Regions from separate parts of the Homo sapiens genome. Here region 2 is linked to region 1. The links are contacts of gene promoters, found by promoter capture Hi-C in human tissues and cell types (Jung and others, 2019). All regions are on one chromosome and are shown on one strand. The core of a region is centred on a gene start or on the middle of the fragment in contact, and the rest is flanking DNA. Distances in the headings are between cores, read along the strand shown.

Region 1 (3,349 bases), core at 850-3,349:
CAGCTCACCGCAGGGTGAGCTCCACCTCCAGGGTTCAAGCAATTCTCCCGCCTCAGCCTCCCAAGTAGCTGGGATTATAGGTATGCGCCACCACACCCGGCTAATTTCTGTATTTTTAGTAGAGACGGGGTTTCTCCATGTTGGTCAGGTTAGTCTCGAACTGCTGACCTCAGGTGATCCACCTGCCTCGACCTCCCAAGCAGGCTTAAGATTTTTAAAAATTAAAGTAAAAGTAAAAAAATAAAATAAACAGACTTCTAAAAGTGACCTCAATGAGCAGAACTAAGAAACAATGGGCAGCAGTAATGGAAGACAGATCCAGCTTAATGAAAGGACCGGCCGGGCGCAGTGGCTCACGCCTGTAATCCCAGCACTTTGGGAGGCCGAGGTGGGAGGATCACCTGAGGTCAGGAGTTCAAGACCAGCCTGGCCAACATGGTGAAACTCCATCTCTACTAAAAATACAAAAAAATTAGCCGGGTGTGGCGGGATGCGCCTGTAATCCCAGCTACTTGGGAGGCTGAGGCAGGAGAATCACTTGAAGAGAGTGTTGCAGTGAGCCAAGATCGTGCCATTGCACTCCAGCCTGGGCAACAAGAGCGAAAACTCCATCTCAAAAAAAAATAATAATAATAATAAAAAGGAAAGGACCAACGACCAGAATTAACAGTGCTGACAGGTAGGAAGGTAGGGTAGAGATGTGGTAAAGGGAATTTAAGATTCCAACGTAACTGAGCAGGAAGACCGCATATCTTAGCTAATCTTTACAGAGACAGAAATGGATGCTTAGAAAGAGAAAGCACCTTGCCCAGTCAGTGGCAGGGAGAGATGAGATACAAATCCTCGGCTGGGTATAGTGGCTCTCGCCTATAATCCCAACACTTTAAGAGACCAAGGTAAGAAGATCACTTGAGCCCAGGAGATCAAGGCCAGGCTGGGCAACACAGGGAGGCCGCGTCTCTACCAAAAATGTAAAAATTAGCCAGGTGTGGTGGCACGTGCCTGTGGCCCTAGCTACCTGGTAGGCTGAGGTGGGAGGATCACTTGAGCCTAAGAAGTTGAGGATGCAGACAGCTGTGATCTTGCCACTGCACTCCAGCCTGGGCGAAAGAGCAAAAATCTGGCCTCAAAAAAAAAAAAAAAAGAGAAAAATCCTTCTCCAACACTAGGAACTAGGTGTGGAACTTACTGAGTCACTTAGGTCAAGTCTCAACTTCCTCATCAGTCAAGTTAGGCCAGTAACTCCTACCTTCTAGTGTCTTTGTGACGAAGGAATGAGAACAGGAGTGAAAGCACTTTACATTATTTGTTATTACTATTATCCAGCAGCCTTTGCTAGAGGGTTGCCCCGATCTCCTGACGCTTGGCCTGAGAGATTCTATAGTGCCCAGAGATAACAGATGATACCCTGGGAATCCCTAGGTCACTCCGGGTTCCCTCCGGGGGTGTAATTAATGGTGCTTGGAGACCACTCCCTCCCTCGGCGTCCTCCACCTGCCTTACCCACACACATGCGCCCGATGATGCGGCAGCCGGCGATAGACGCGTGCACCACGGGGATGGTATCGGAGAGCTCGCCCTCGAACACACTGTAGGGACATGGACTCGGTGGTGGCGGGGCAGAGGGGCCGGCACCCTCCCACTGCCGGAGCTCTTGACTCCTGCGCACGCCTCCCCGCCACCGTAAGCCCCGGGGCTCCCGCCGCACCTGTAGAAGTTCTCTGAGCCTCCGATCGCTACCAGACAGTAGGTGTTGGTGAGCTTGGCAAAGCAGCCGATCTCACAGTTGTTCTCGAACGAAGCTCGGACCGCCATGAGGCCTAGGGGCGGCGGAGGCGGGAGTTCAAGGCCGGCGGATCCTTTCCCAAGTATCCCGGCCTCCGTCCCTCAGGCCCCGCCGCGACCCCGCCCCTCTCGGCCTCCCGGCCCCTCCGTCCTCGGGTCCCGCCCACTGGGCCCCCACCAGAACCTCCGGCCCTGAATCCTCTGGCCCCCACCCCTCCCGACCCAGGACCGGAGCTGACCCTCCCAGGTTCCCCTCACACCAGCTTACCAAGTAACCAGTAACAAGCTCCGCACGCGGCGACTGTACCTTGGACTCCCTAAAAAGGTTTCCGTTTCCACTTCCGTCCAGGGAGACTTCCGGGAGAGCCCGGCGCTCCCCGCCACGCATCCAGCCCCTCTACCTCCGGCCTCCGGCGGACTCTATGGTCGCGAGCGGTCTGGGCGCGACCCCGCCTGGCCCCACGCCTAGCCTGCTCGCGTTCATTCATTCATTATTCATTCAGGAGCTTTTTAGGAGCTGTCATCGACCTAGACCTCCGGCTGGTCGGTTGTGAGGCATGAGGGAGAGGAGGGGCCAGGAGTGTCTCGCGGAAGGGTTGATGATGGAGGTATTGATGGAAATGAAGCCGGAGGAAGGGCAGGTTTGGGGAAAGGGATGAGTCCAGCTGTGCCTTGAGGGACAGAAGTCCATGTCTGGAGCCCAGCAGGGGAGTGGAGTGCTGACGAATGAGATGAGGGGCTGAAGACGGGTGGACTAGAAGAGGCTACCCATGGAGAGAGTTCCAGGAGGCAGAAGTGCGGCCAGACCGAGGCTGGAGAAAGAGCGCAGCCAGAGACGGAAAGGCAGCCAGGCTGCAGGTGCTGGAGAGAGGGGAGGACTGAGGAAGCAGGGGCTCAGGAAAAGGCTGGAAAGGGGTCCAGGGTGGGCAAGGATGTGGGTGCTGGTTGGCTTCCACGATGTGCCTCTCGCACGGCCTCTATCACTCACTCAGCAGCCAACTTCTGTCCCCAGGATAGTGATGGGGGCCAAGGGCCCTGCTGCACACTTGGACAGGATGAACTTGGCCCACATTTTGTAGAATCTGCAAAAGCCCCGGGTTCTCTCAAAATGTCACAGTGGTAACTTGGAGCCCCTGGACTCCCCCAATTCCTCCTTCGGCATTCACCCTCCTCCAGGGGTTTCCCCATAATTGGCCTGAATGGTGCCCTTCCCATTCCCCCAACGTGTCCCTCCCATAACTCCTCAAAGTTCAGGATACACCAGGCGCTGTGATTCACAATAAAGTCTGCCTTTATTGATGTGTATCATGTTTACTATCCCGGGTAAGTGGTGAGTTCAGGAAAATGGCCCACAACCTGTCACAGCCTGTACTTCAAGAGACACTCAGCAAGATGATGACGACGACAATGATGATGATGATGATGATGACTCAGCAAGATGATGACGACGACAATGATGATGATGATAATGATGATGTGTGTGTGTGTGTGTTTCCGGGTATCCACATACTCTGCTCTTCCTCACTCATTCACCTCAGACCCACTCAGTCCTCTTTAGGGCATC
Region 2 (3,349 bases), core at 618-3,117, 570 kb before region 1:
AGGGGTGCTCTGAATGGAGAGAGTCACAGGCTTTGCTTGATGACTTACGTGGGAAGAGGGTGTGGTCCTGCATTGGGCAGAATTGGAATGTGACAGAGGTGGTGGCGATGAAGCACACTGACTAGAGAAAGTGCAGGGTGGAGAGAGCCTTTGTAGCTGGGCAATTCACCCACTGTTTCCCTCACCAGTTCTCATCATAAAACGAAGTGTAATAGACAGACTGACAATGCTTTTGGTGAGAAATCAACGAGTAATGCCATAAGCAAATGAGTAAATTCTGTTAGAATGCAAAAAAAAACCTGCCTTGGGATCCCTTTTGGAGCCAAGCTATTGTTTCACAGTAAGGAACCATTTTTGTCATGCTATAGTCAAGGTCTAAACAACATGACCATGGGCCTTGGTCAGTGAGGGTCTACTATGGCCCAGCCAGTTATATCAAGATTGTGGAAGGCTGGGCGTGGTGGCTCACGCCTGTAATCCCAGCATTTTGGGAGGCCGAGGTGGGCGGATTGCCTGAGGTGAGGAGTTTGAGACTAGTTTGGCCAACATGGCGAAACCCCATCTCTACTAAAAATACACGAAAAACTAGCCGGGCGTGGTGGCGTGTGCCTTAATCCCAGCTACTCAGGAGGCTGAGGCAGGGGAATTGCTTGAACTACGGAGGTGAAGGTTCCAGTAAGCCGATATCCCACCACTGTACTGTAGCCTGGAGACAGCGAGACTCCGTCTCAAAAAAAAAAAAAAAAAAAAAGACTGTGGATACATACAGTCATGAATGCAATTCAGAATAAGCAACGGCCTGCTCTGAGCCCAAGTGAGCCTGAAGGCTTCATGGAGGAGGTGGGAACTGAGTGATTTACACACAGAATGACAGTGACATACAGGGAAATGACTATGTTTTGATTCCTTTAGTTTCTCTTGTACTATCAGTGTTTTAACTTAATCTTATGCCAGACTTAAACTGTGTTTCTTAAAAACGTTTTGGCCAGGTGTGATGGCTCACCCCTGTAATCCCAACACTTTGGAAGACTGACGCAGGAAGCTCACTTGAGCCCAGAAGTTTTGAGGCCAGCCTGGGCAAGATGGTGAGAACCCATCTCTACAAAAAGAAAAGAATTAGCTGGGTGTGGTGGCACATGCCTGTAGTCCCAGCTACTCAGGAGACCAAGTGGGAGGATCACTTGAGCCCAGGAGTTCATGGCTGAAGGAGTTCAAGGCTGAAGTGAGCTATGTTCATGCCACTGTACTCCAGCCTGGGTGACAGAGACCCCATCTCTATTTAAAAAAAAAAAAAAAATTCTACACAAAGTTATGGCAGAGTACAGTGAATAGCCTGAAGCTCTCCAAAGGTAAACACTTCTTTAGAATCTCATATTGACTTCAAAAGGTCACCTTTATTTCATATTCTGGTTTTAATATGAAAATAATGTTCTAAAATTACTTCTCATCAAGGAGAAAAAAAATGCTTCTAATATATCAATACAAAAGATGAATCAGATTTACCCATTTCTGGTAACTAGGCTGAATTTTCTGATACTGCATGTTAGGTTGTATTCAAGGCAAATTTTCCTTTGTCTTTTGTATCATAATATTTTGTGAACCCAGACTCTAATAAATATGTAGATTGTAAGGAAAAATTTCACTACTCTGTTAGCTAAGGTGACTGCTAAGAAGTGAGGCCTAGGCCAGGCGTGGTGGCTCATGCTTGTAATCCCAGCACTTTGGGAGTCTGAGGCGGGTGGATCACCTGAGGTCAAGAGTTCAAGAGCAGCCTGACCAACGTGGAGAAACCCCATCTCTACTAAATAAAGAAAATTAGCCAGGTGTGGTGGTGCATGCCTGTAATCCCAGTTACTCGGGAGGCTAAGGCAGGAGAATTGCTTGAGCCTGGGAGGTGGAGGTTGTGGTGAGCCGAGATTGCGCCATTGCACTCCAGCTTGGGCAACAAGATTGAGACTCCGTCTCAAAAAAAATAAAAAAATAAAAAGAAGTGCGGTCTAGATGAATTTCCAAGAGGTGCCCAGTACAGTAATTTCATTCAAGCCTCTGTTGGTGGAAATTTCAGTATGTTTGTCTTCTCAAAGGTCATGTTTTTTTTTGTGCCATGTGGTAGAATCAGTCTTTCTGATTTACTCATTAGTCTTTTACTAATCAGAAGACAGTTAATCTGCCAGGATGTTAATAATGGTGTTCTTTATTTTAATTCATGTAAATTAAAGAGTCTCACACAGCCCACATAACTCCCTAAAATCAACTCTTCAGGTCCAAATCTCAAGCGTTATTTTCACTGCAGCAAATTTGTCATTTGCAGTAAAAATAGGCAGGGTTTTTGTCTTGACAGTGTTCATCCTCAGCAAAACATTCATTAACTAGGTCAACTTTGGAAGCTTTTCCCTTGTTGTGATATGAAGGATCAAGTGGTATGTCTGAGAAACATATGTGGCTGGGAAAAGAAGTGGGTAGTGGGGTGTGGGGGAGAAGCAACCTCAGGCTCCCCCTCCTTCCTTGCTTGTTCCCATTTGTCACTGCTCCGAAGCACCCAATGAACTGGTAGGTTGCCTCTGAGCGTGAATCAATGAGTGGGGTCAGGAATAAACAAATGACTTGTGCTAGAAACTGCAAAAAAACCCACAAACACACCATTAAAAACCCTCATCTTTTGGATACTGTGGTTGGTGGGGAGAAGGATGTAAACTTTCATACTTCCATGAGGAAAAAAATAAATTTTAAACTGAGTTTGAAGTCTCTATCACCTTCCCTGGATAAATCCAGTCAATCTGAGACATAGAGCAAACCTCAGACTCAACATGTCTAAAACCAAACTTGGGATTTTCACCTCCAACAGTGAGGTCCTTTGCCACTGTTCCCCATCATGTCTGAAAAAAATCTGTCTGAAAAAAACATCTTTTGATGAGTTTTTTTGTTTTGGTAGTTGATTTTCTACTCCCTCCAAAATGTTACCACTTTTACTACTCTAATGAATAGGCAAATCACCTTTTTTTTTTTTTGAGATGGAGTCTTGCAAATTACTTTTTTTTTTGAGACAGTCTCGGATTGTCGCCCAGGCTGGAGTGCAGTGGTGCGATCTGAACTCACTGCAACCTCCACCCCCTGGGTTCAAGCAATTCTCCTGCCTCAGCCTCCCTAGTAGCTGGGATTACAGGCATGCACCACCACGCCCAGCTAATGGTTGTATTTTTAGTAGAGATGGGGTTTGGCCATGTTGGCCAGGCTGATCTCAAATTCCTCACCTCAACTGATCTGCCCGCCTCAGCCTCCCAGAACGTTAGGATTACAGAAGTGAGCCACTGAGCCTGGCCACAAATTACTTTAAGGTAAGAAATTCTAG

Evidence for each region. Contacts are between HindIII fragments. The study calls those that stand out against the background at their distance.
Region 2: a contact is called between a fragment that was not itself captured here and the fragment with the promoter of EIF6 in region 1, in 1 of the 25 tissues and cell types used here (dorsolateral prefrontal cortex).

The regions. Positions count from the first base shown.
Region 1 is chr20:35,282,673-35,286,021 of GRCh38, forward strand. It overlaps EIF6 (eukaryotic translation initiation factor 6), which reads right to left and starts at 2,100. Exons shown (of 7, transcript NM_002212.4): 1 at 2,054-2,100; 2 at 1,709-1,820; 3 at 1,504-1,589. The coding sequence starts at 1,815. It overlaps FAM83C (family with sequence similarity 83 member C), which reads right to left. Exons shown (of 4, transcript NM_178468.6): 4 at 3,059-3,349. It overlaps FAM83C-AS1 (FAM83C antisense RNA 1), which reads left to right and starts at 2,579. Exons shown (of 2, transcript NR_109815.1): 1 at 2,579-2,643; 2 at 2,798-3,100. RefSeq lists a silencer at 1,830-2,019 and an enhancer at 2,112-2,662. The HindIII fragment of the contact is 18,620 bases long and covers 1-3,349 here.
Region 2 is chr20:34,715,486-34,718,834 of GRCh38, forward strand. The region is part of intron 14 of NCOA6 (nuclear receptor coactivator 6); the gene reads right to left. Among named protein-coding and RNA genes, the nearest start is that of TP53INP2, 13 kb to the left of the region's middle. The HindIII fragment of the contact is 3,259 bases long and covers 239-3,349 here.